6 separate regions of the Homo sapiens genome follow, and regions 1, 3, 4, 5 and 6 are each linked to region 2. The links are contacts of gene promoters, found by promoter capture Hi-C in human tissues and cell types (Jung and others, 2019). All regions are on one chromosome and are shown on one strand. Each heading gives the region's core, a stretch centred on a gene start or on the middle of the fragment in contact. The rest is flanking DNA. Distances are from core to core; before and after follow the strand shown. Region 1 overlaps RAD51 (RAD51 recombinase). Region 2 holds the start of VPS18 (VPS18 core subunit of CORVET and HOPS complexes). Region 3 overlaps KNL1 (kinetochore scaffold 1). Region 4 overlaps INO80 (INO80 complex ATPase subunit). Region 5 overlaps RAD51 (RAD51 recombinase). Region 6 holds the start of INO80 (INO80 complex ATPase subunit).

Region 1 (4,745 bases), core at 539-3,038, 180 kb before region 2:
TCTCATACTTCGTCTTCTGTTATCAGAACTTTATGCTCCTCTTCAACTCTCATTCTTAGCCAAAAACCTAACCTGCTCTTTGCATCAAATCTACATTTGTGCCCATCTTTTCTTATCTCAGGTTACAATTGAGAAAGTGTCCCTTTTCTTCTCAAAGGCCCATTCTATCAATATGATTTGGTTACCATCTCCTGCCACCTTCTCAAGGACTCTACTCCTTCCATTTTCTCTTGTACCTCTCTATGAGATTATCCTCATCAGTATACAAATATGTCTAGTGTCTCCTCCATTAGGAAAAAACCTTCCCTGGACCCCTTCAGTTTCTTTTTCCTTTACTTATGCTCCTATTGGTGGGAAGATTTGGAAATAGACACAGTAGGTTAAATAATTGCCCAATACATTGTATTTAAGTAGCAAATACTGGACTCAAACCAGACTTCAGAGATGATGTTCTTAAAACTTCATAAGAGGCCAGCATGGTGTTTCATGCCTGTAATCCCAGTACTTTGGGAAGCCAAAGTGGGAGGATTGCTTGAGACCAGGAATTTGAGACCAGCCTGGGCAACATAGTGAGACCCTGTTTCTGAGATGCCATTTCTAAAAACAAACAAACAAAAACAGACAATTAAAAATATTAGCCCAGCATGATGATGTGTACCTGTGGTCCTAGCTACTCAGGAGGCTGAGGTGGTAGAATCTCTTGAGCCCAAGAGGTCGAGGCTCCAGTGACTGGGATCGTGCCACTGCATGTTTTCTGCTGTATTGCTAGTGCCTAAGGCAGTGTTTGGCTCTCAGTAAACAATAAATGCTTGAATGAGTGGAGATAATAGATGTCCAAAAACATGCCTGATATATAAAATGAATGTCACAGAGGAAATGGGTTAGCTGTTTAAGGAATAGAAAGGGGTAATTTCACCCTAGAGTGATCATGGAATACTTTATGGAGAAAAGATTTTGGACCAGACTTCTGAAGAATGCTAAATTTGGGAAGGAAGGAAATTAAAAGCATTTAACTGTATAGAATGGGATGAACAGAGGATGGGAAGGCATAAGTTAGAAGGAAAAGACAATAAATAAGCAAGGTCATTTAACTGGTTTAGAGTTTGTGTAGAAAAGTTGTAGGAGATGACCCTTAAAAAGATACATCAAACTGGGCATGATAGCTCACACCTGTAATCCCAGCACTTTGGGAGGCCACGGTGGGTGGATCGCTTGAGCTCAGGAGTTTGAGACCAGCCTGGGCAACATGGCAAGACCCTATCTCTACAAATAATATAAAAATTAGCCAGACGTGGGCTGTGCCTGTAGTGGCAGCTACTTGGGAGGTGGAGGCGGGAGAATCGCTTGAGCCCAGGAGGCCAAGGTTGCCATGAGCCAAGATTGTACCACTGCTCTCCAGCCTGGGCAACAGAGCAAGATTTTGTCTCCATCTCAAAAAAAAAAAAAAAATTAAGATCCTATTTCAGAAGGTTAAGAAGTTTAAACTTGATTTTATGAAGAGTAAGCATTAGCTGGTCAGGAAACTAAGATAGTGACAATAAAGAGAAGTAGGGAAAAGATGTTGTAAAGGGCAGCGCTTGATGACTGACAATAAAAAATACACCTCAGCCCAACAATGTATTACAGTAACTTAGTAAACCTAAAAAGTGTTTGAGAGGGGAAGACAGTTTTGTTGGAAACATGAGTACAGGTTTAGAGATGACAGGTTTGAGGTGACAAACCCCGAGTGAAAATTTCTAGCTGTATTGAGAGATGTGGAACTAAGTCACACAGAGAAGTAAAAATGGAATCTGGAAACGAAAGATCCATGAGAAAGGAAGGGAGTAGGATATAGAAGAGAAAGCTAACAAACTTTCATCTTTTCTGCAACTTCAGGCAGTGTAATGGGGAGCCGTTTTTCCTTGTCTAAGTGAGTCTTAATGTTCTCTGGCTTTAAGGATGTGCTGCATAAGTGGCCAGTCCACAAAGTATCCTTGAACCTGGCCCATGCCCATGGACCAACTCTTCTGTTATAATCTTTTGAAGCTTTATTATAATTTTAGTTATTTTGAAAAACATGGCATTATTTTAATCTAGATAGATTATACCCACTTCTGCCATGGGCACAACTTACTGTTGGAGATCAAAACAACTGAAACAAAATCTGCCTTATATCAGTGTTACAGAAGAGGCTTCCTAGTGTTTTTCTATCCTCGGGACTCAACTCTGTTGAGTTTTTTTTTCTTTTCTTTTCTTTTTTTTTTTTTTTTTTTGAGAAAGAGTCTTGCTCTGTTGCCCAGGCTGTAGTGCAGTGGTGTGATCTTGGCTTGCTGCAACCTCTGCCTCCCAGGTTCAAGCCATTCTCCTGCCTCAGCCTCCCGAATAGCTGGGATTACAGGCATGACGGCCACCACGTCCAGCTAATTTTTGTATTTTTAGTAGAGACGAGGTTTCACCATGTTGGCCAGGCTGGTCTCAAACTCCTGACCTCAAGTTAATCTGCCCGCCTTGGCCTCCCAAAGTGCTGGGATTACAGGAGTGAGCCACCGTGCCTGGCCCAAGTTTATTTAAATTTAACATCAAGTAACCTAGCTTGATAGCCTCCCATTTTTCTTATTTTCCTTTTTTTTTTTTTTTTTATTTGAGACGGAGTCTCTGTCGCCTAGGCAGGAGTGCAGTGGCGCAATCTTGGCTCACTGCAACCTCCATCTCCTGGGTTCAAGCAGTTCTCCAGCCTCAGCCTCCCAAACTGGGATTACAGGTGCCTGCCACCCAACACAGCTAATTTTTTGTATTTTTAGTAGAGACAAGGTCTTGCTGTGTTGGCCAGGCTGGTCTTGAACTCCTGACCTCAGGTGATCCACCCGCCTCAGCCTCCCAAAGTGCTGGGATTACAGGTGTGAGCCACCATGCCCGGCTTTTTGTTGTCATTTTAATTGTTTATTGCTCCACTGATATTTTCTTTGCAGACCAAAATGTTACAATTTTTTTTTTTTTTTTTGAGGCGGAGTCTCATTCTGTCGCCTGGGCTGGAGTGCAGTGGTGCCATCTCTGCTCACTGCAAGCTCCGCCTCCTGGGTTCACGCCATTTTCCTGCCTCAGCCTCCCGAGTAGCTGGGACTACAGGCGCCCGCCACCACGCCTGGCTAATTTTTTGTATTTTTAGTAGAGACAGGTTTTCACCGTATTAGCCAGGATGGTCTCGATCTCCTGACCTTGTGATCCGCCCACCTTGGTCTCTCAAAATGCTGGGATTACAGGTGTGAGCCACCGTGCCTGGCTGGCTGCCATATGTCTTATGAGACAGCCAAGCTAGCATGTCAGTATCGAGTAGACCTAATCCATTGTTAACTCTCCTCAGAAATAAATTCTTTTTTTTTTTTTTTTTTGAGATTGGGTCTCACTATGTTGCACCGGCTGTTCTTGAACTCCTGAGCGCAAGCAATCCTCCAACCTCAGCCTCCCACATAGCTGGGATTACAGGTGAATGCCTCTGCACCCAGATCCTCATAATCATTAGGAAGAAAGAGCTGAGGGGGAGGGGTGGAGGAGGATGCTTAGGAGACCTTTTATGATAATAAGGGAGGAAACATTGAGAAGAGGAAGAGTAAGTTATAGAAGCTATAGCTATTGCGTGAGCTCCATTAGAAATTTGATAGCTAAAGGGAATTAGGGCTGTTTAAAATGTCACTCTTACATCCGTCATTTGACATGATATGTGACCTTTTTAAATAGAAATGTTTTCCCATGTTTTGACAGGGACTTATGTAGAATAAGTATTTAGACTACAGTACATAATATCTATAGTTGCCATGGCAACTCAGCATAGCATGCTGACACTCCAAAGTTGTACAAATAGAATCCTAATCTGAGAATGTTTAAGTAGTCAGATAATGTCTGTCAACAATAAACTAAAGCAAAATTCTCAAGTAAATATAGCCTGTTAAAATAACATTTACAGATGGCTGAACAACTATATAGATCGTTGACTTTTTTTAAAGAAAAAGAATGCTAATTAATTAATAATAGAAAAGATTACATTTCATCAGCCTAAGAGCTGGAACCAGGGATATAGAGAGGATGTTAGACTATTACTTAAATCTAAATATTATCTACTCTCATTTGTTTTCTCAATTTAATGAAGTAAAACCCCATTATATGTTAGGTCTCTCTCTAATAGAAAAGTCATAAAGTTGAGAGCTACAGTTAGGTTACAAAATGAATTAGCCCATGCTTGTTCAAAGTACTGCAGTAGTTTTAAAATTCTGGGCCGGGTATGGTGGCTCATGCTTGTAATTCCAGCACTTTGGGAGGCTGAGGCCGGAGGATTGCTTGAACCCAGGAGTTCCAGACAAGACTGGGGAATATGGCGAGATCCCATTTCAATTAAAAAATAAAAACAGTTCTGAGAAGACAATTTAACATAAGTACCAGTTTTAAAAGCACATGCCCATGCGGGCATGGTGGCTCACGCCTGTAATCCCAGCACTTTGGGAGGCTGAGGTGGATGGATCACAAGGTCAGGAGTTCAAGAACAGCCTGGCCAAGATGGTGCAACCCTGTCTCTACTAAAAATACAAAAATTAGCCAGGCGTGGGGGTGGGCGCCTGTAATCCCAGCTACTTGGGAGGCTGAGGCAGAGAATTGCTTGAACCTGGGAAGTGGAGGTTGCAGTGAGCTGAGATCGTGCCACTGCACTCCAGCCTGGGCAACAGAGTAAGATTCTGTCTCAAAAAAAAACCAAAAACCAAAAAACCACAAAACAA
Region 2 (4,109 bases), core at 1,542-4,041:
GATCCTCCCACCTTAGCCTCCCAAAGTGCTGGAATTACAGGTGTGAGCCACCGTGCTCAGCCCTGCTCTTGGTTTTCTTGAGGACTGCATAATACCTTCTCTTTTTGCCCTTAGAGGTCCTACATGCTCTTCAAGTCTTAGGTCAAATTCAACTGCTTTCTTACACAGATCCTCTCTCTCATTGGCTTAGCAGTCACCTGTTACCTGTCTCATGGTAACTGCTACAATGACTCTGAGGACTAGAGGCTGGTGCGTATGTCTCTAGCTGTGAGTTCCCTAAGGCACCTCTGTATCTTCATGCTCAGAAATCACTGGGTTATTTCCTGCAGTTTCTATCAAAGCAAAATGTCCACACTGCATCATTAGGGGCCCCCAAGTGGCCAGAATAAGAAAAGCCAGCTGGGCGCAGTGGCTCGCACCTGTAATCCCAGCTACTGGGAAGGCTGAGACAGGAGAATGGTTTGAGCCCAGGTGTTTAGATGAGCTATGATCACATCACTGCACTCCAGCCTGGGTGACAGAGCAAGATCCCATCTCTAAAAAGAGTTCTGAGGGATCCAGAGAGGCTTCAGGAAGGAGGAGGACTTGAGAGAGACTGTCAGATGAAAGTCACATTTAGAGTTTATTAAGCACATGCTCCATGTTGGGCATTATACTATAGCAGTGAGCTTTCACGTGGATCCCTCATTTACTTCTCAGCACAGACCTACTAGGTAGGTATTTGTCTCTGTAGATGAGGAAACTGAAGCTAAGAGCATCAACTGTGCAGTGTCACAGCTAGCAAGTGGCTGGGCAGGGATAAGAGATACAGCTTGCCCTTGGAGATCATACATGCACTTCAAGTCTTGGGTCAAATTCAGCTGCTTTCATACAGGAATCCTCTCTTTTGATGCCCTAGCAGTCATCCCTTACCTGTCTCATTGCAACTGCCACACTTGATTCTGTGGCTCTCAAAGAATCCAAAGTCCAGCCTAAGAACTGAAGAATGAGTAGGTGGAAATGCACTGTGGTAATCAACGCATAAGGGAGACTGTACTGAGTCTGCCACAAACAGGGTCCACCCAGGCCTATCCCATACATCCCGGAGAGCCATGGAGCCCAACAATGGGGTGCTGGGGTCCCTGAGGCTGTAGCTGGAAGTACTCTGTGTCCCTAAGGCAGCACTCCTATGCTGACCTCCAACTGCTAATGGGCTCTGTGCAGCAGGGACAACCCTCTGCACAGTCCAGACCTGAGGGCAGATGGCAGGTGACCTGGGGGTGAAGTGTTATGTATGGAGCAGGGCAGCTCCCTGTCTGGGATCACTTTTCTTAGAGGAAGCCTCCTGCCTATTGTCCTGCTCCTGCACTTCCCTCCTGGGACCTGGCAACCTCAGGTGGGAAGGCTGCATTGAGGCTGCAGGCTTGGTCAAGAGAAGCAGGACCCTGGTGCGAAGGGAAATGAGCCTGGACAGCATACTTGTCACCTGCCCCAGGACTAGTGCCCCTCCAAGCCAGAGAGCCCAGATAGCCCTCAGTGGGGCTGGTGAGAGTCACAGTTCTCCGCACGTGGCCAGGAAGTTGAGCAAGAGTAACCCAACCACATAAGGTATGGTGCAAACCTGGAAACTTCTGAGAGCAAAGGGATGCTCTTAGTTGTTAGGCGGGGGCCGCCCAGCAGAGCCAGGACGGTGGCGACCCTAGTCCAGAGCCTTCCACTTTAGCAAGGTAGAATCCAAGGGCCCCAGAAGGGAACAGACTCCATCTGGGTCGCCTAAGCAGGTGAGAGAGGAAAACCCAACCACAGTCGCGCCCCAGCCCTCGCAGGTCCCTGGCTGAGGACTCCCCTCTCCACCTCAGGCTGGGCGGCCCCCGCCTTCACGCTTGCTCCCACTTGTCCCTCGTTCTTGCTAGGCTTGGCAGGTATTTGTTCCCTGCTCCTTCACGCTCTCAGTGCCGTGGCCACGTCGCTGGGTACGCCCCACCAGGCAAGAGACATTTTCCGTCTTGTTCTCTGCCACGTCCCCAGAGCCTGGAACAGTGCTTGGCACAGAGTGGACGCTCATTCGTGGAGTAAGTGCCTGATGGATAATCCATCACTTGCTTTTCTAGTATGAATGGTCTATTTACGGGTCCAGCGCCCCTGCTGGCTTACGACCTTTTCCAGGGCGGGGAGGGGCTGTCCTCATCTCTGTGACCCCAGCGCCCAGCCCAAGGCCTGGCACAGAGTAAGTGCTCAACCACATTTTGGTGAATGAGTGAATGGAAGCGGCCCAGCAACCCTGAGCCAAGGAGCCACTGTGGGGCAGGTCAGGGCGGTTCCTGGCACAGGGCTTCCCACTAGCCTGGCCACCAGCTCTGCGGTCTCCTGGAAGCTGGGGGGCCTTTGGGTAAGGGAGAAGAGTGGCCAGGAGTTGTCTGCGTGTGCCCTGTGACGGTGGGATAGAGACAGCGATTGGATTGAGGAACGGGAGGTTCCCCGAGGCTGTTTAGAGAGGCGGGAGCGGGAGCTGGTCAGGGAGGCTGGACAGACCACCCGAGGGAGCGGAGCTTGGGCACGAAAGCCAAAACTGGGCGGCGCGGGGCGGGTGGGGAAGGCCGGCTGAGAAAGCCGGGATTGCCTCCTGGTGTCAAAGCTCGGAACTGCAGCAGGATCCTGGGGGCGGGGCTTGTGTTCAGCAGCACTCGCCACGCGCCCAGCCCTCAGCCCTCGTCTCGCCTTCTGCTGGCTGGCCCGGCGACGTTGTGCGCCAGCGTACGCGGGGCTCTGAGAACCCGGAAGTTACGTTTTAGGCCCGCGTCACGGGGGCGGGAGTCAGCTGAGCTGCCGGGGCGAGGTTGGGATCACCTGGCACCGGCTGAAGGGAGCCTGTGATTTTTTTGTAGCGGGGGCGGGGAGTAAGGTGCAAGACTGCGCCAGATTCAAGGACGAGGGCTGCCCGATTATCTCGCTGCATAAGGCAAGAGCAAGAGGATCCTCAGGATTTTAAAGAGGAGGCGACGGCTGCAGGTTCCCAGGATCTGTCAGAGGCTGGGGAGTTACAGCTTCCATTCTGGGGCGACGGGGACCCCGGGGGGGTAGCCCTTTTGTAATCCCCAGGCCCCGGACAAAGAGCCCAGAGGCCGGGCACCATGGCGTCCATCCTGGATGAGTACGAGAACTCGCTGTCCCGCTCGGCCGTCTTGCAGCCCGGCTGCCCTAGCGTGGGCATCCCCCACTCGGGTAAGGAAGAGGAGGGTGCCGCTGCCCCTTTCGGCTCTCCTAGCATTTGCGTGGGAGCAGCGAGGAGGGCAGCTCCAAGAGCTCGGGGTCATCCCCTGGGCCGTGCCTTCCGGGTCTAGGCCCCTGATTCTCCTCAGGCTCTCTTGGCCCCCAGCTGGTGGATAGTCGAAGTTTGAAAGAGCAACGGGAGCTGCCGCGTGATCTAGGCTCTACCGCTAGGGTCCTTTTGAGAGGGAATTGGGGCCCAGATAAGGAATTACTCACCTACAGGGCGCAGTTGGGCTGTTGGGAGAACTTAGAATGGGCTCCCGGCTTCTGCTGATGCTTTTCCCACCAGGCCCCTTCTGGAGGTGGGAGGGAAGGAATGGACAAAGAAAGTGGTGAAGGCGGAGTATTGCAGAGGAAGAAGGGAGGGTCCCAGAGGGAATTTTGTCGCTGAACGGGGAAAATGGAGATGAAATCTTTTTGGCCTTGGCTATAGCTGGGTGCAGCCTGGAGTTTGGGGACGTTTTTGTAGAAAGTAGTGAGTCTCCAGGAGAATGAGGGCATAGGGAGCCCTGGGGAACTGTTCCAGTGAGTGGAGTTAACGAATTGGAGCTGCTTTCACTCTAGTCTTTACCTTCATTCAATGCTCAAAATATCCCAGCACTTGCCAACTCTACACTGAGGCTCATTACCGCATGGGCAGGGAGGGGGGCAGAGAATGGGGCTATACTACTTCAGTTAAGCTGGGATTGCTGGGCCAAAGACCTGATAAGGGAGAATACCCAGACCACCAGTCCCGTCCCACCTCCACGCAGCCCCATTACCAGTGGGAGCAGGTATATCATGCTGTGACAGCATCTTAAGGGTTCAAAGAATCAACCCCTCACTGCTGTCAGAGTGTGGAAAGAGCTCCAGACCTCTAT
Region 3 (4,155 bases), core at 204-2,703, 250 kb before region 2:
CAAATGTACAATCGAGTTTTATACAAAGACATTCAGTTCCCATGGGCAGGCAGGAGACAGTGGCCTTCCTCTATCTCAACTGCAAGAGGCTTTCGTCTTTTACTAATCCACCTCAGCACAGACCATTTACGGGTGTCGGGCTGGGGGACAGTCAGGTCTTTCTCATCCCACGAGGCCATATTTCAGACTATCACATGGGGAGAAACCTTGGACAATACCCCGCTTTCAAGGGCAGAGGTCCCTGCGGCTTTCCGCAGTGCATTGTGCCCCTGGTTTATTGAGACTAGAGAATAGCGATGACTTTTACCAAGTATACTGCTTGTAAACATTTTGTCAACAAGGCACGTCCTGCACAGCCCTAGATCCCTTAAACTTTGATTTCATACAACACATGTTTTTGTGAGCTTCAGGTTGGGTCAAAGTGGCTGGGGCAAAGTGGTTGGGGCAAAGCTACAAATTAACAACATCTCAGCAAAACAGTTGTTCAAAGTACAGGTCTTTTTCCAAATGGAGTCTCTTACGTCTTTCCTTTCTACATAGACACAGTAACAGTCTGATCTCTTTCTTTTCCCTACAGTGCTAATTAACTTTTCCGTATTTTAGATTAAAGCTTTCTGCATCGAACCAAGATAAGCTGTTGGTTGATATAAATAAGAACCTGTGGGAAAAAATGAGACACTGCTCTGACAAAGAGGTACTTTTGTCTCATTTTCTGAATGAGAATCAGTGAAGACATTCTGAACGATGTTTATTGTGAAATGAGTAACTGTTACTTGGTCATAGTGATGAGTTATTTAACTTATTTTTTAAGTGTAATGTGGTACCAAGGTCTTATTTAATTACACACAATTGTTAATATATAATCTTTTCAAACCTGAGATGATCAATTTAATATATGAAATATAGTTGAAGTTTATTTAGAGTTCCCTCCTTGCTATTTGCCTTTCACTTAGATTTAGACGAAGAAAAGATTTACTTTAATTGATTAAATAGCAAGCAACCCATTTTATATGTGCCCTAATATATTAAAAAGTTTCATTAACTAAGAGCCTGTCATTTTCTAATTTATAATATGAATAAGTGAATTAAAGGCAGGAATCAAAACTGAAATCTTTTTTCTGGTCTTAGACAATTACATGGAATTAAATTTGCAAATGACAAATATCCTGCCTTAGGATAGGCAAAGCCTAGCCTTCCTAGACCATTTACCTCTTCTGACTCGTTTGTTTTAGTACAGTGTTCTCTATAACTTTCCCTTCCAGCTGAAGGCCTTTGGAATTTATCTTAACAAAATAAAGTCATGTTTTACCAAGATGACTAAAGTCTTCACTCACCAAGGAAAAGTGGCTCTGTATGGCAAGCTGGTGCAGTCAGCTCAGGTAATTTGAGACAGTTAATATCATAGAAAGAGAGAGATATTAAAATTACTTTCTAATGGTTATAGAATATGAAGAATCTTCCTTAGAAGACATGTGAATAAGACTTGGGCAAAAACTTAACAATTAAGAGGTAAGGTTCAATTTGTCAAAAGTGGCAAATCCTGACATCTTGAGTAATACTGGAATATAATTACTAATGTGGGCCTATGTCTCATCTCAAATACTATTATCCATCATACATACTGAAATAAAATACATAGGATTCTGGTCTCCCATTGCTAAGGACTATACCATAGTATTATCTTCTTCATAGTCCATACTAAGCTGTATATGTATGCACATGTGTTTAAAGTAGCATTTCCCAAAATGATTAGCTTTTTTAAAAGGCTCTGCATAAAAAAACTTTCCATTGGCAAGTAAGTATGGGAAATGTTGCAAGCAATATGCCCTTTCAGAGAAACATAATTTTTTAAAGTCTAAGCATAAATGCTGTAATTCTTTTTGACCACTGTTTCCTATGTTTAGTTTATCATAGAAATGTTTTTAAGTAATAAATATTAATATATTGTATTCCATGGAACACCTATAGAAATGCTAAAATAAAGTACCAGAATTAGTTTTATGTCAATATGCTTTTTAAATTATTTCATTTTCTTTTAATAAAATATTTTATTAAATTTATAAAATAAACATTTTATTTTCCAGAGTTCTTTTGGCTAAAACTTATTTTAATAAAATTTACTTTTATTTTTTAAGTTCCAACCTAAAGCTTTGACCTTCATTTTAAGATTTGCCTGTTTGTAGGCTGGGTGCGGTGGCTCACGCCTGTAATCCCAGCACTTTGGGAGGCCAAGGCGGGCGGATCACGAGGTCGGGAGATCGAGACCATCCTGGCTAACACGGTGAAACCCCATCTCTACTAAAAATACAAAAAATTAGCCAGGCATGGTGGCAGGCACCTGTAGTCCCAGCTAATCAGGAGGCTGAGGCAGGAGAATGGCATGAACCCGGGAGGCGGAGCTTGCAATGAGCCCAGATGGCGCCACTGCACTCCAGCCTGGGTAACAGAATGAGACTCCGCCTCAAAAAAAAAAAAAAAAAAAAAAGATTTGCCTGTTTGTGATCATGATAGAGCGATTATGTGAGCAGTTTGAACCATTTATAATATTTTCTTTAGAGGTTTAACTTGACAGTCTATAATCTTTTGTATTTAGAATGAGAGGGAGAAACTTCAAATAAAGATAGATGAGATGGATAAAATACTTAAGAAGATCGATAACTGCCTCACTGAGATGGAAACAGGTAAAGTATTTTAAATACTTTTCCAAAAGAAAATTTAATTTTATCTAAATGCTCTCCTACAGTAGAGAATGTTGGTACCACGATATTGAAGACTTGTATTAGCAACTTGAGATATTAAATTAGAGTAAATTGGCTCACGCCTGTAATCCCAGCACTTTGGGAGGCCAAGCCGGGCGGATCACCTGAGGTCAGGAGTTTGAGACCAGCCTGGCCAACATGGTGAAACCCCATCTCTACTAAAAATTTTAAAATTAGCTGGGCGTGGTGACGGGCGCCTGTACTCCAGCTACTCGGGAGGCTGAGGCAGGAGAATAGTTTGAACCCAGGATGTGCAGGTTGCAGTGAGCCAAGATTGCGCCACTGCACTCCAGCCTGGGTGGCAGAGCGAGACTCCATCTCAAAAAAAATAATAATAAAATAAATAAATAAATAAATTAGAGCAAATTAAAGTTCCTTTACTATAGTCATCCATAATACAATCAAGAGCTGCTCAAGATAACCCAGACTGTAATTTTGTGTTTTTTAATAGATGAATTTATCTCAGTTTGAAAACCGTCTATCCTTTCAGTTTGGTCTTTCATAATCCCAACTTTTTAGAGTTACTCTCCTGAAACTCCTTTCTCAAAGATCACATAATTCTGCATAGTCATCAAATTTTGTTCTTCTCAGTCCTTAGCCATTTTGACCTCTTTCAGCATTTGACACTGATGACTGTTCTTTTCTTCCTGAAATGTTCATCTCCCTTAATCTCTGTGATAATGCACTATCTTGACCCAGTTGTTTTCTCCTGGCTGCTCAATCCAGCTTCTCTGTTGGCCTCTCTTTCTCTAACTGATCCCTTGTGGGGATTTAGATTTTATCATCTGTTCTTTTCTATATTCTCTCCCCTAGTGCTTTCGTGTGCCTTAATAATTATGTGACTGATTCCCAAATTTAAATTCCTCAAGCATTTTTTGAGCATATACTGCATGCCAGATACTGTGCTTAGTATCAGAAAATAAATAAAAATATTTAAGACACAGATTTTGCCCTAAAGGTAGCTTATAATCATTTCAGGTGAGGGCATCTTTAGCCTCTCTTTCTTGAATTCTAGACTCAATTTCTAGCTTCCTTCTGAACCTGTATGCAAAAAATATCCTTAAACACCTTAAACTGTGAATACAGCCTGGGCAACAGAGTGAGGCACTATCTCTACAAAAAACAAGAGATTAGCTCAGCGTGATGGCACATACCTGTAGTCCTAGCTACTTGGGAGGCTGAGGCAGGAAGATCTCTTGAGCCCAGGAGGTCAAGACTACAGTGAGGCAAGATCACACCACTGCACTCCAGCCTGTGCAACAGAGCAAACTAAATAAATAAATTTAAATATATTCTCCGAGCTCAAAAATAAAATTCAAAAACTTGTTCTCTCTTATGATGTTTCTCATCTTTATGTATAGCAGTCACAATTCTTATACATTGTAAAAGCTCAATA
Region 4 (4,100 bases), core at 1,180-3,679, 170 kb after region 2:
AAAATATATTGGGGCACTAGGAAAAAAAAAATCAAGCCAACTGCAGTGGCTCGTGCCTATAATCCCAGCACTTTAAGAGGCCAAGGTGGGATGATTGTGTGAGGCCAGGAGTTAGAGACCAGCCTTGGCAACATAGCAAGACGGCACCATAAAATTAAAAAAAAAAAATTAGCAGGGTGTGGCGCTGCATGCCGGTAGTCCTAGCTACTTGGGAGGCTGATGTGGGAGAATGGCTTGAGGTGGAGTTCAGGGCTGCGGTGAGCTATGATCACGTCTCAGCACTCCACCTTGGGAGACAGAAGGAGAAAATGTCTCTAAGAAAAAAAAAAAAAGCAAAAAAAAAAAAAAAAATCAAAAGAGGTGGCAACACCCACAGGGTATATAATCCTAAATTAGGATATCGAAAGAAAGTTCAACATGCAAATGATAGCTCTGTTTCAGGCATACTTATAAAGTCAAAGGAAAGGCATCAATGACATTAGTAATATCACATTGCCATCTATCAGCAGTGGAAGAGCTACTGAAAACTTAAGTGGTTTGGTGAAAAAATTTTAAGACCTTTTATTTTTCTTTTTTCTTTTTGAGACGGATTCTCACTCTGTCGCCCAGGCTGGAGTGCAGTGGCATGATCTCGGCTCACTGCAAACTCTGCCCCCCGGGTTCAAGCAATTTTCCTGCCTCAGCCTCCCGAGTAGCTGGGATTACAGGCGCCCGCCATAACACCTGGCTGATTTTTGTATTTTTAGTAGAGACAGGGTTTCACCATCTTGGCCAGGCTGGTCTTAAACTCCTGACCTTGTGATCCACCCGCCTCACCTCCTAAAGTGCTGAGATTACAGGCATGAGCCACCATGCCCGGCCAAGATCTTTTATTTTTCAAGATCTGCATTGTTCAATATATACTGAACATCATATGAAAAAAAAAGCAGAAAAAGATGGTGATCACCATTCCACAAGACAAACAATTTAAGAGAAAATAGTCAACAAACTGCATTAGAATGATCTCATCATCATCTCAGCAAGATGAAAATGAGTCAGTCAAATTAAAAGCTATATATCCTAACACTCCTTATACAGTTTCTACATCTACAATTTAGCCACAAAATGGGACCACAGCCATAAAGCTGCCTCAAAGTGGGAAATCCCAGACAATTTCCTATTCCATACAAAGCATAAGCCAGAAAAATACCTGCCTCACATTTCTACCCTATCCCAAGCTCCAACTACAGGAAACCCATCACTATTACAGAGACCCAAAATCACAGAGATCATGTCAACATATTTTGATATATAATCTCCAAAATACTATCTTAACTGTGCAACTTCATTATCATATTCCTTTAGGGACAGAACACATATTTAACTCATTTTCAATTCTTTTAAATTGCAAACAATAAATCCTATTCATTCTTTCTTAAATTCCTCCAACTTTTCATAACTAAGCAGCTGTTTAAATCTAATCAATGTCTTGCCCAATGGATGCCAAATACTTCCCTGATCACCCCCTACTTCAACCTGAATTCTTTTCCTCTGAATTAATTAAATCGATGTTCACATTATCTACCTTAGACATTATAAGCTGGACTAAGACTAGAGATCAGACTTTAGAGTATTAAGAAAATGAACTGGCTGGGTTTGGTGGCTCGTGCCTGTAATCCCAGGACTCTGGGAGGCTGACGCAGAAGGATGACTAGAGGCCAGGAGTTCAAGACCAGCCTGGGCAACATAGTGAGACCTGCCTCTACTAAAAAAGCAAAATGGGCTGGATGGAGTGGCTCACACCTGTAATCTCAGCACTTCAGGAGGCTGACATGGGTGGATCACCTGAGGTCGGGAGTTCGAGACCAGCCTGACCAACATCGTCAGTAGAGAAACCCCGTCTCTACTAAAAATACAAAATTAGCCGGGCATGGTGGCACATGCCTGTAATCCCAGCTACTCGGGAGGCTGAGGCAGAAGAATCACTTCAACCCTGGAGGCAAAGGTTGCGGTGAGCAGAGTTTGCACCATTACACTCTAGCCTGGGTAACAAGAGTGAAACTCTGATTAAAAAAAAAAACAACAGCTGTGTGCGGTGGCTCATGCCTGTAATCCTTGCGTTTTCGGAGGCCCAGGCATGTGGATCACCTGAGGTCAAGAGTTTGAGACCAGCCTGGACAACATGGTGAAACCCTCTCTCTATTAAAAATACAAAACAATTAGCTGGGCATGGTGGCAGACACCTGTAATCCCAGTTACTCAGGAGGCTGAGGCAGGAGGATTGCTTGAACCTGGGAGATGGAGGTTGCAGTGAGCCGAGATTGTGCCACTGCACTCTAGCCTCGGCGACAGAGTGAGACTCCATCTCAAAACAAAAACAAAAACAAGACATGTATTAAAAAAAAGAAATGAATTATTTACAATAGATTTAAATGAAAAGAGAAATGCCGTAAATGATAGGATGTGTACTGATGGTATGATTTGTCAAAAATCTATGTTAAACCAAATAAGGTAGATGTTTTCTACCGTGGCAGTTTGACCACGAGTATCCATTTATCAGGCTAAATGCAATATGCACTCATTGTTCCCAGCAGTAAGTTTTATAGTGATTATATGCAAGTTATTTTGGAACAATGTATATTTTTGTTTTTGTGACGGAAGGAGTCTTGCTCTGTCGCCCTGGATGGAGTGCAGCGGCACATTCTCGGCTTGCTACAACCTCCCTTCACTGCAACCTCCCCTCGCCCCCTCACCCCCCTGGCCCTGCCCCGTTCAAGCGATTCTCCTGCCTCAGCCTCCTGAGCAGCTGGGACTACAGACACATGGCACCATGCCCGGCTAATTTTTTTTTTGTATTTTTAGTAGAGACGGGGTTTCACCATGTTAGCCAGGATGATCTCGACTTCCTGACCTCGTGATCCACCCACCTCAACCTCCCAAAGTGCTGAGATTACAAGTGTGAGCCCCCAAGTCCGGCCAAAATTTAAAACTGTTATGAGTAATTAGTAGGGCAAGAAAAGGAGAGTCAAAAAGTTTATTTTAAAGAGCAATAGATGTTTTGGTTGGACTGATATTTACCTTAAATTTAGGAACAAATCTAGTAAACTCCTGGTGCCAATTGTTAAGTGTAGACGCAGGTGAAATTATTAAGAAAGGTCCCCAAATGTTCTCTCTCTGCAACAGAAAAACCCAGTCAGCCAACTACAGGAAAAGGGAAGGTATTTAATTCAAAATTATAATTAATGACAAGAACAATCTAAGAATAGGAAACAAATAACAAGAGAAACAGTGAGTAAATCCCAAATCTGCACATTCAATAGTAATATCCTATGTTAATAATAAGAACATAAAGACACACCTGAGAAAAAAATGGCAAGCAACTATTCCCTCTTCTGACCTCTTATAGGTCTTATCCACAAAGCATTCATGACACACTGACTTGTATGTATTGTTTTCTACTATACTAGTTATCCGACAATCTTGTAGTTATTTAATAGGTATAGAGCTTTTGCTTTTTTTTCAGTTTTACGCATTTTTAAAATTTAATTCTTATAAAATTCCTATAAAGTAGATAACGTCTCCATAGAAGAGGAAGAGGAAGAGGAAACTAAGCCTCAGAGAGTTAAGTTGAAAAAGAGGCTAAATTGCCCAAGTTTACACTGGTAATAAGAGTAGAGCTGAAATGTTAGGCAAGGTGTTCTGATCTAACTATATGGCCCTTGCCACTACACTGGTGGTAATTAATGCAGAGCGGAAAGGAGTGTCTCAAAATCACATGCTCAAAAATTGTCCTAGCCCTCTTAAAAACCAAAAAGTTATAAAACACTGTCCCCTTATAAAGCTCTGAGGCAAGAACCCAGTCCCACTATCTTGGAATGCTACACAGCTTAACATAGTGCTTTTAAGTGGCTGATTTTCAACAGAAATTACCCTAAATTCTAGAGAAATGAAGATAGAAAGATTGCATCTACCCACCTCAGCCAGATGGGCCAGAAGGGCAATGCTCTGTACTGTTTTACCAAGGCCCATTTCATCAGCAAGAATGCCATTAATACCCTGGGGAAAAAAAATACATGGTCAACACCTCATGCATTTCATCAAATAAAGTTCAACCTGTTACC
Region 5 (4,427 bases), core at 485-2,984, 160 kb before region 2:
TCTACTAAAAAAATACAAAAAAATTAGCTGGGTGTGGTGGCGGGCGCCTGTAGTCCCAGCTACTCCGGAGGCTGAAGCAGGAGAATGGAGTGAACCCGGGAGGCAGAGCTTGCAGTGAGCCAAGAATGCCCCACTGCACTCCAGCCTGGGCGACAGAGCTAGACTCCATCTCAAAAAAAAAAAAAAAAAAAAAAAAATCTGTATACAGGAAAAACTATGAATATGAGATTTTAGGGTGGTAAGGAAGGGACCAGAATCTGACACAGGCTAGAAATAGGCTTCAGAGAATCCTTGTTTCCTGTAGGTATGCACTGCTTATTGTAGACAGTGCCACCGCCCTTTACAGAACAGACTACTCGGGTCGAGGTGAGCTTTCAGCCAGGCAGATGCACTTGGCCAGGTTTCTGCGGATGCTTCTGCGACTCGCTGATGAGGTAAGTTGTGGGATAGGGACAGAGAATGCCTACTTTCAGTGGCTGTGAATTCCAGGAGCCTTGCTAGGAGGCTAAGACATCAGTGCCTGAGATCATCAAGCTCTTAGGAAGAAGAGAGACATTAGTTATTCGTTATTTTGTGGGGGAAAGTGGTGGCAGCATTAAGGCTTTTGGAGTGTCTATGGCCACAAAATTGACATTTATCCTTTCCCCATCAGTTTGGTGTAGCAGTGGTAATCACTAATCAGGTGGTAGCTCAAGTGGATGGAGCAGCGATGTTTGCTGCTGATCCCAAAAAACCTATTGGAGGAAATATCATCGCCCATGCATCAACAACCAGGTAAGGTGTTGATGGGATCAGTTCTTCTTTTCGGAATGTCATATTAACTGTGAAGACATGAAGATATAACATTTTCATTTAAGCCCTGTTAAAGCTACTGTTGTATAGACACTTAGGAACTCTTGCTAATCTAATTAACATGCTCTCGTTGGTATAGATGTTTTAGTTCATAAAAGAATTAAAAACCCACAAGTGTGGAAGAATGAATATGAGTAATTGATATGCCTCTCCCCTGTTATTTAAAAAATGTTTGGGCTGGGCACAGTGGCTCACACTGGTAATCCCAACACTTTGGGAGGCCAAGGTGATAGGATGGTTTGAGGCCAGGAATTCGACACTAGTAAGGGCAACAAAGTGAGGCCTCTGTCTCTACAAAAAAAAGTAGCTGGTGTGGTGGCGTGTGCCTGTAGTCTTAGCTACCCAGGAGACTGAGGCAGGAGGATCAGTTGAGCATAGGAATTCGAGGCTGTATTGAGCTATGATCACACATCACTGCACTCCAGCCTGGCAAAAGAGCAGGACACTGTCTTGAAAAAATTTTTTTTCTTTTTTTTTTTTTTTTTTTGAGATGGAGTCTCGCTGTGTCACCCAGGCTGGAGTGCAGTGGCACGATCTCGGCTCACTGCAAGCTCCGCCTCCCGGGTTCACACCATTCTCCTGCCTCAGCCTCCCGAATAGCTGGGACTACAGGCACCCGCCACCACACCTGGCTAATTTTTTTGTATTTTTAGTAGAGATGGGGTTTCACAGTGTTAGCCAGGATGGTCTCGATCTCCTGACCTCGTGATCTGCCCAACTCAGCCTCCCAAAGTGCTGGGATTACAGGCGTGAGCCACCATGCCCGGCCTAAATTTTTCTTTTTTTAATGTTTGTTTCAATATGGACAATCCACTGAGAGGGGCCAGGGCAAAAATGGATTCTGCCAGGTTGGAAATGCACTAAGGAAAACAGTACAGAAACATTCCCAGGGTCCTTCTAGGAAGAATATATGTCTAAAAAATTTTCAGCTCTGTTACAAAGTCAGGAACGGAATTGTTTAATTATAATAAATTGGTGCTTTGGTCTGTGTCTTTGGGTCAGATTGTATCTGAGGAAAGGAAGAGGGGAAACCAGAATCTGCAAAATCTACGACTCTCCCTGTCTTCCTGAAGCTGAAGCTATGTTCGCCATTAATGCAGATGGAGTGGGAGATGCCAAAGACTGAATCATTGGGTTTTTCCTCTGTTAAAAACCTTAAGTGCTGCAGCCTAATGAGAGTGCACTGCTCCCTGGGGTTCTCTACAGGCCTCTTCCTGTTGTGACTGCCAGGATAAAGCTTCCGGGAAAACAGCTATTATATCAGCTTTTCTGATGGTATAAACAGGAGACAGGTCAGTAGTCACAAACTGATCTAAAATGTTTATTCCTTCTGTAGTGTATTAATCTCTGTGTGTTTTCTTTGGTTTTGGAGGAGGGGTATGAAGTATCTTTGACATGGTGCCTTAGGAATGACTTGGGTTTAACAAGCTGTCTACTGGACAATCTTATGTTTCCAAGAGAACTAAAGCTGGAGAGACCTGACCCTTCTCTCACTTCTAAATTAATGGTAAAATAAAATGCCTCAGCTATGTAGCAAAGGGAATGGGTCTGCACAGATTCTTTTTTTCTGTCAGTAAAACTCTCAAGCAGGTTTTTAAGTTGTCTGTCTGAATGATCTTGTGTAAGGTTTTGGTTATGGAGTCTTGTGCCAAACCTACTAGGCCATTAGCCCTTCACCATCTACCTGCTTGGTCTTTCATTGCTAAGACTAACTCAAGATAATCCTAGAGTCTTAAAGCATTTCAGGCCAGTGTGGTGTCTTGCGCCTGTACTCCCAGCACTTTGGGAGGCCGAGGCAGGTGGATCGCTTGAGCCCAGGAGTTTTAAGTCCAGCTTGGCCAAGGTGGTGAAATCCCATCTCTACAAAAAATGCAGAACTTAATCTGGACACACTGTTACACGTGCCTGTAGTCCCAGCTACTCGATAGCCTGAGGTGGGAGAATCACTTAAGCCTGGAAGGTGGAAGTTGCAGTGAGTCGAGATTGCACTGCTGCATTCCAGCCAGGGTGACAGAGTGAGACCATGTTTCAAACAAGAAACATTTCAGAGGGTAAGTAAACAGATTTGATTGTGAGGCTTCTAATAAAGTAGTTATTAGTAGTGAATGTGCTGTTTATAGCAATTATTGCAGTGCAAGCTATTTCAAGACAGGGTTTCCATAATCTTTTTGGCACTGTATAGGGGTGATCAGTTTCTGTTGCTTCAAGATTTGAAACCAGAAAGGAAAGTCCCACTTGCAGATGATTGTGCTTAAAAGCTAATGGAAAAATAAAAGAAAGACATACCATGGGTTGCCTTGTGGCCCCCCTTTCCTTTTTTTTTTTTTTTTGTTTTTGAGATGGAGTTTCATTCTTGTTGCCCAGGCTGGAGTGCAATGGCGTGATCTCGGCTCACCACAACCTCCACCTCCTGGGTTCAAGCAATTCTCCAGCCTCAGCCTCCCAAGTAGCTGAGACAACAGGCGCCCGCCACCACGCCCTGCTGATTTTTGTATTTTTAATCGAGATGGGGTTTCACCATGTTGGCCAGACTGGTCTCGAACGCCTGATCTCAGTGATCTGCCGGCCTTGGCCTCCCAAAGTGTTGGGATTACAGGCACGAACCACCACACATAGCTCTACAATGCTTTGTTTTAAAAGCCGTTCTAGTCTTTTTTGAGACCGTCTCTCACTCTGTTGCCCAGGCTGGAGTGCAGTAGCACAACTCACTACAACCTTCACCTCCCAGGTTCAAGCAATTCTCCTGCCTCAGACTCCCGAGTAGCTGGGATTACAGGCACGTGCCACCACGCCTGACAAATTTTTTTATTTTCGGTAGAGAAGTTTTTCACTATTTTGACCAGGCTGATCTTGAACTCCTGACCTCAGGTAATCCGCCCACCTCGGCCTCCCAAAGTTCTGGGATCACAGGTGTGAGTACTTTGGGAGGTCGAGGTGGGTGGATCACCTGAGGTCAGGAATTCGAGACCAGCCTCAACATGGAGAAACCCCGTCTTTACTAAAAATACAAAATTAGCTGGGCATGGTGGTGCATTCCTGTAATCCCAGCTACTGGAGAGGCTGAGGCAGGAGAATCGCTTGAACCTGGGAGGCGGAGGGTGCGGTGAGCCGAGATTGCGCCATTGCACTCCAGCCTGGGCAACAAGAGCGAAACTCCGTCTCTAAATAAATAAATAAATAAATAAATCAGGGACTGGGCCAGGTGCGGTGGCTCACATCTGTAATCCCAATGCTTAGGGAGGCCAAAGTGGGTAGACCACTTGAATCAGGAGTTTGAGGTCAGCCTGGGCAACATGGTGAAACCCTGTACAAAAAATTTAGAAATTAAAAAATTATTTGGGCATGGTGGGACGCACTTGTAGTCCCTAGCTACTCCGGTGGCTGAGGTGGGAGGATCCCTTGAGGCCGGGAGGTAGCAGCTGCAGTGAGCCCTGATCACACCACTGCACTGCAGCATGGGTGAGAAAGCAAGGCCCTGTCTCAAAAAAAATCAGATTGAAAAGTAGCATTGTCAATGTCCCTGGAAGCCAGATGCCAAATGGAGTTTATGGGACTCTTTTTTTCCCCTTTACCTC
Region 6 (4,668 bases), core at 1,887-4,386, 220 kb after region 2:
GAGCTCAAACGATCCGCCTGCTCAGCCTCCCAAAGTGCCGGGATTACAGGTGTGAGCCACCAAGCCTAACCTATTTAATGTGAATTTGTATGTTGGCATATAAAATCCCCTAGCCAGTTTTGTTTTGTTTTGTTTTTTTGAGACAGAGTTTTGCTCTTGTTGCACTCCACTGGAGTGCAGTGGCTCAATCTCGGCTCACTGCAACCTCCGCCTCCCGGGTTCAAGCGATTCTCCTGCCTCAGCCTCCTGAGTAGCTGGGATTACAGGTGCGCGCCACCACGCCCAGCTAATTTTTTGTATTTTTGGTAGAGTCAGAGTTTAACCATGTTGGCCAGGCTGGTTTCGAACTCCTGACCTCAGGTGATCCACCTGCCTCAGTCTCCCAAAGTGCAGGGATTACAGGCGTGAGCCACCGCACCCGGCCAACAAACTTTCATTAAGTGAACCTCTAACACCACAGCTTATAATTAGTTTTGTTTTGTTTTTAGAGACAGGGTCTCGCTCTCCACCCAGGCTTGAGTGCGCTGGCACAATCATAGCTCACTAGGGACTCAAGTGATCCTCTTGCCTCCTGAGTAACTGGGACTACAGGCTTGAGACACCATGCCCAGCAGAATAGCTCTCGATTTGTTGCTTTGGCTTAATCACATTTCCACCTTGATGTACTCAAAATGTTTTTATTAGTCATAAACTTTTCTAATCACATTTGTGCTCACTACAATTATTTCCTATCACAATTTACAGACTTTCAAAAATTGATTTGGTTTCTACTGAAATAAAACGTAGAGGAAAAGAACACAGTAAGCTAAAATGATGGAATTCAATCCCTTAAAAACAAAATTCAGCCGGGCACGGTGGCTCACGCCTGTAATCTCAGCACTTTGGGAGGCCAAGGTAGGTGGATCACGAGGTCAGGGGCTCGAGACCAGCCTGACCAACATGGTGAAACCCCGTCTCTACTAAAAATACAAAAATTAGCTGGGTGTGGTGGCGGGCGCCTGTAATACCAGCTACTCAGGAGGCTGAGGCAGGAGAATTGCTTGAACCCGGGAGGCGGAAGCTGCAGTGAGCCGAGATCACGCCACTATACTCCAGCCTGGGCGACAGAGCCAGACTCCGTCTCAAAAAACAAAAAAAAAAAAACATTCATTTTAAAGTCTAGAAGGTATGCAACTTTTACCACACATAATGATCTCAAATTGTTTTATAGGAGGAGGAGCTTGGAAATTTCAAACATAAAATGCAACTAGAACAGAATATTATTTGGCATTAAAAGCAAATGAGGCCATGTGCGGTGGCTCATGCCTATAATCCCAGCACTCTGGGAGGCCAAGGCAGGCGGATCACTTGAGGTCAGGAGTTCGAGACCGGCCTAGCCAACATGGTGAAACCCCGTTTCTACTAAAAATACAAAAATTAGCCGGGTGTGGTGGCAGCCGCCTGTAATCCCAGCTACTGGGGAGGCTGAGGCACGAGAAGTGCTTGAACCTGGGAGGCGGAGGTCGCAGTGAGTCGGGACCCCGCCACTGCACTCCAGCCTGGACGACAGAGCGAGACTCAGTCTCAAAAAAAAAAAAAAAAAGGAATTAAGTACTGATACCTGCTACAACACGGATGAACCTTGAAAACACCATGTTAAGTGAAACAAACTAGGCAAAGAAAGATACATATGTTTCTTTTTTAGGTAAATTTAGGCAAAAAATATATTAATAGTTACCTAAGACTGGAGGGAGGGGGAATGGGGAGTGACTGCTAAATGGCTTCTAGAGATTCTCTTTTAGGGTGATGAATTAAATAGTGGTTGATGGCTACAGAATTTAATAAATATAGTTTCAGAAAATTACTTAATTATACGCTTTAGAAAGCGGAATTTTTTGGTATTTGAATCATATTTCAATAAAGCTATTATTTAATTTAAGTTGCCACTGAAAAGCCACAATAATTTTGTTGTGGAGGAAATAATGAAAGTCACTGACTGGAAAAGTAACCTGTGACGTTAGCCAGGTCAACCTCCAAATTCCTTCCCCCATTTCTAACAAGTACATCAAACTAGAGACAGTGTGTGAATCAAAGAATTCCAGGCACAGTTGGCTGTTAACTAGAATAGTAAGTGGCTGCCTAGGTTCTGTCATTCCTAAACTGTAGGGGGCTTCTAGCCTCGGAGATTACGGAAGTAGTACTTTCCATTAGCGAGCTCAAGAAGGAATGTCAAAATAGGATGACACTTTCCTAGTCGCTATGTAAAAACCTAAAAAACCAGAAGAGGTGTCATCTAGACACTCCCAAGTCTATGCAGGTGTCAGCCTGCCCCCACCCAACACCAGCCAGCAGCGTGCACCATTCAACCGTATCTCAACTTGCCCCTTACAAAATGACACACTAACAAGCCCTTAGATCTCATTTGTTTAAAATGACAGATACACAACCTTCACGGGGTTCCCACTCAAGGCCTTCCAGCCTCCGCCCTGCCCCTGCCCACCCCCAAACCTACACACGTGTTAGCCCGACACCGCCCCACCGGGTCCCACGTGCACCTGGTCTAACACACTCCCCACGTGTGGGCGCCCCACGGGCTTCCTCAGGTGGCTGAGGTCACCGCATGACCCCGGGTCTCCAGAGATATGAAACGGGAAGGACAAGGCCCTAGTCCCTGAGGTCCCAACCCTGCGGGGAGTGTCCACACCCATCCTCCATACTAACCCCAACAAATCCAAGGGCCGGGGGCGACGGCCCCTTTAAGACGCGGCCCAGTTGTCGCCCGCAGAGAGGGGCGCAACAAGACCTACACAACCCCCACTCCGTTCGCCCGCCCACGTCTAGTTGCCTCACCTCGGGCCGCCTGGCCCCGCCGCCGCGACGGCGGCGGAGGGGGGGCGGGGTGCGGGCGGGGTCCGGAGGGGGGGGTCGCCCCGCCGACGGTGGAGCCGCGGTTCGCTCTCTGAGGCCGTGGGACGGTGACTGCGTTGGGCGTGGACGCTCCTAGCTCGCTCCCTCCGCGGCTCCTGGGACCCCAAGATGGCGGCGGCGCTGAGGCGGCTGCGGGCGCTGGGCCGGCGGCGGCGGCGGCCACTTTCACTCACTGAGAGGAGCGGAGCAGGGACACGGGGAGCCATGGCGGGGGGGAGGAGAGGCGCCATAGCCAGGCCAGAACAATCGAGCCGCTACACGGGTGGCTTACCCCCACCCCGCCCACACTCACTGCTCGTCGCCTGCCCGTGGCCACCCGTAGTGCCGCTGCCGTCGGCCTCGCGCAGCTCGCACCCCGCCGCTGCCACCTGACGCCCCGTGCGAACCGGGGTTCGAGGGGAGACCCTGATCCATGCCATCTGAGTACAGATTAGTCGGGACTGGGACTGGCGAAGATTGCCGAAAGGCGGCGGGGAGGAGGAGGAGGATGTCATCGCTACAGTGAGCAAGCAGATCTCGCAGGAGAAAATGTCGCGAGAGCTTTCCAGGCCCGCAACCGCCGATGCAAGGTTACTTTTCCCGGAAGTAACGTCAATCGAAACCGCCCGGGATCCTGGGATATTTGTTCCCGCAGGCTAGAGGTGGGAAGGTGCAGCCAAGTTGATAAGATCTCTTTAGGGGAAGGAGAGGCTCGCAGCTGGTATTTTGTTACTAGTTTCTGACCCCTTTGGATGGGGTTGTAGATTGTCGGGGAAGTGCCTGGTGTGTAGTTCGACTACTATACAGTAATTAGTTTGGGGCTCCCATTTAGACTCTGGGAGCAAGAACGCTATAGGTTGGGTAGGACAGCATAGTTAGATAAGATGTCTACGTGAAGGTTGTGGGATACAAGGACTTGGGAACACGCAGACCTGTTATCGGAAATGCCAGCCTGTTCTCACATCCACACAGTGTGCCTCTGAAAAGCGAATAATTGCTTTTACCTGTGCCAATTCTACAATTTGAGTCCACTGCCACCCACATTTACTAAACTTGGGGTCTCGCTATGTTGCCCAGTCTACTGGGCTGGTTCCCAGTCTCCTGGCCTGAAGTGATCCTCCTGCCTGGAAGGATCACCTCAGGCCAAACGTCTCAGAGCAGTCCATTAGACTGGTCAACATAGCGAGACCCCGTCTCTACAAAAAAGACAACATAATAAATGTAATCGACCCAACTACCAGGATGTGTGGTGAGAATTGCCTAGGGTAAGGCCTAGGTGTAGATAAGAATTAGAACTTACTGAAAGTTAAATATGCTGTTAATTCAGTTCCTTTGGGTCTCATTCTTTAATCCATTTTAACCTGGCCCTTAGCATTTAACTAAAAAGTACTTTATTAAGGTCATCAAGTAGCCTTCTTGTGCTGAGTTAACTGACCTTTAAAAAGTTAAATTTGTGTCAGGGTGCAGTGCCACACGCCTGTAATCCCAGCACTTTGGGAGGTCAGGTGGTCGAATCACCTGAGGTCAGGAGCTCGAGACCAGCCTGACCAATATGGTGAAACCCCATCTCTACTAAAAATACAAAAATTAGCCGGGCGTGGTGGCGGGTGCCTGTAGTCCAGCTACTTGGGAGCCTGAGGCAGGAGAATCGCTTGAACCTGGGAGGCGGAGGTTACAGTGAACCGAGATCGCACCATTGCACTCCAGCCTGGGCAGCAAGAGCGAAATTCCGTATCAAAAAGAAAAAAAAAAAAATCCATCTCAAAAAGAAAAAAAAAAAGT

What was found. The method cuts DNA at HindIII sites, captures the fragments that hold promoters and counts their contacts. A contact is called where the count stands out against the background at its distance.
Region 1: a contact is called between a fragment that was not itself captured here and the fragment with the promoter of VPS18 in region 2, in 3 of the 25 tissues and cell types used here (adrenal gland, heart left ventricle and thymus).
Region 3: a contact is called between a fragment that was not itself captured here and the fragment with the promoter of VPS18 in region 2, in 1 of the 25 tissues and cell types used here (pancreas).
Region 4: a contact is called between a fragment that was not itself captured here and the fragment with the promoter of VPS18 in region 2, in 1 of the 25 tissues and cell types used here (mesenchymal stem cells).
Region 5: a fragment that was not itself captured here is called in contact with the fragment with the promoter of VPS18 in region 2 in 1 of the 25 tissues and cell types used here (bladder).
Region 6: a contact is called between the fragment with the promoter of INO80 here and the fragment with the promoter of VPS18 in region 2, in 2 of the 25 tissues and cell types used here (lymphoblastoid cells and mesenchymal stem cells).

What each region holds. Positions count from the first base shown.
Region 1 is chr15:40,710,645-40,715,389 of GRCh38, forward strand. The region is part of intron 5 of RAD51 (RAD51 recombinase); the gene reads left to right. Among named protein-coding and RNA genes, the nearest start is that of RAD51, 18 kb to the left of the region's middle. The HindIII fragment of the contact is 9,054 bases long and covers 1-4,745 here.
Region 2 is chr15:40,891,659-40,895,767 of GRCh38, forward strand. VPS18 (VPS18 core subunit of CORVET and HOPS complexes) reads left to right here and starts at 2,792. Exons shown (of 5, transcript NM_020857.3): 1 at 2,792-3,201. The coding sequence starts at 3,111. RefSeq lists silencers at 337-386, 2,508-2,677 and an enhancer at 3,518-3,607. The HindIII fragment of the contact is 19,251 bases long and covers 1-4,109 here.
Region 3 is chr15:40,644,394-40,648,548 of GRCh38, forward strand. It overlaps KNL1 (kinetochore scaffold 1), which reads left to right. Exons shown (of 26, transcript NM_144508.5): 15 at 604-694; 16 at 1,263-1,379; 17 at 2,594-2,681. Among named protein-coding and RNA genes, the nearest start is that of RAD51-AS1, 49 kb to the right of the region's middle. The HindIII fragment of the contact is 5,654 bases long and covers 1-4,155 here.
Region 4 is chr15:41,066,513-41,070,612 of GRCh38, forward strand. INO80 (INO80 complex ATPase subunit) reads right to left here. Exons shown (of 36, transcript NM_017553.3): 13 at 3,955-4,035; 14 at 3,058-3,153. Among named protein-coding and RNA genes, the nearest start is that of INO80, 48 kb to the right of the region's middle. The HindIII fragment of the contact is 5,849 bases long and covers 1-4,100 here.
Region 5 is chr15:40,729,201-40,733,627 of GRCh38, forward strand. It overlaps RAD51 (RAD51 recombinase), which reads left to right. Exons shown (of 10, transcript NM_002875.5): 8 at 305-434; 9 at 653-774; 10 at 1,855-3,140. The coding sequence ends at 1,978. Among named protein-coding and RNA genes, the nearest start is that of RMDN3, 24 kb to the right of the region's middle. The HindIII fragment of the contact is 9,331 bases long and covers 1-4,427 here.
Region 6 is chr15:41,113,144-41,117,811 of GRCh38, forward strand. INO80 (INO80 complex ATPase subunit) reads right to left here and starts at 3,137. Exons shown (of 36, transcript NM_017553.3): 1 at 2,830-3,137. RefSeq lists enhancers at 1,999-2,779, 2,405-2,454, 2,535-2,584, 2,635-2,714, 2,780-3,559 and 2 more and a silencer at 2,815-3,084. The HindIII fragment of the contact is 26,384 bases long and covers 1-4,668 here.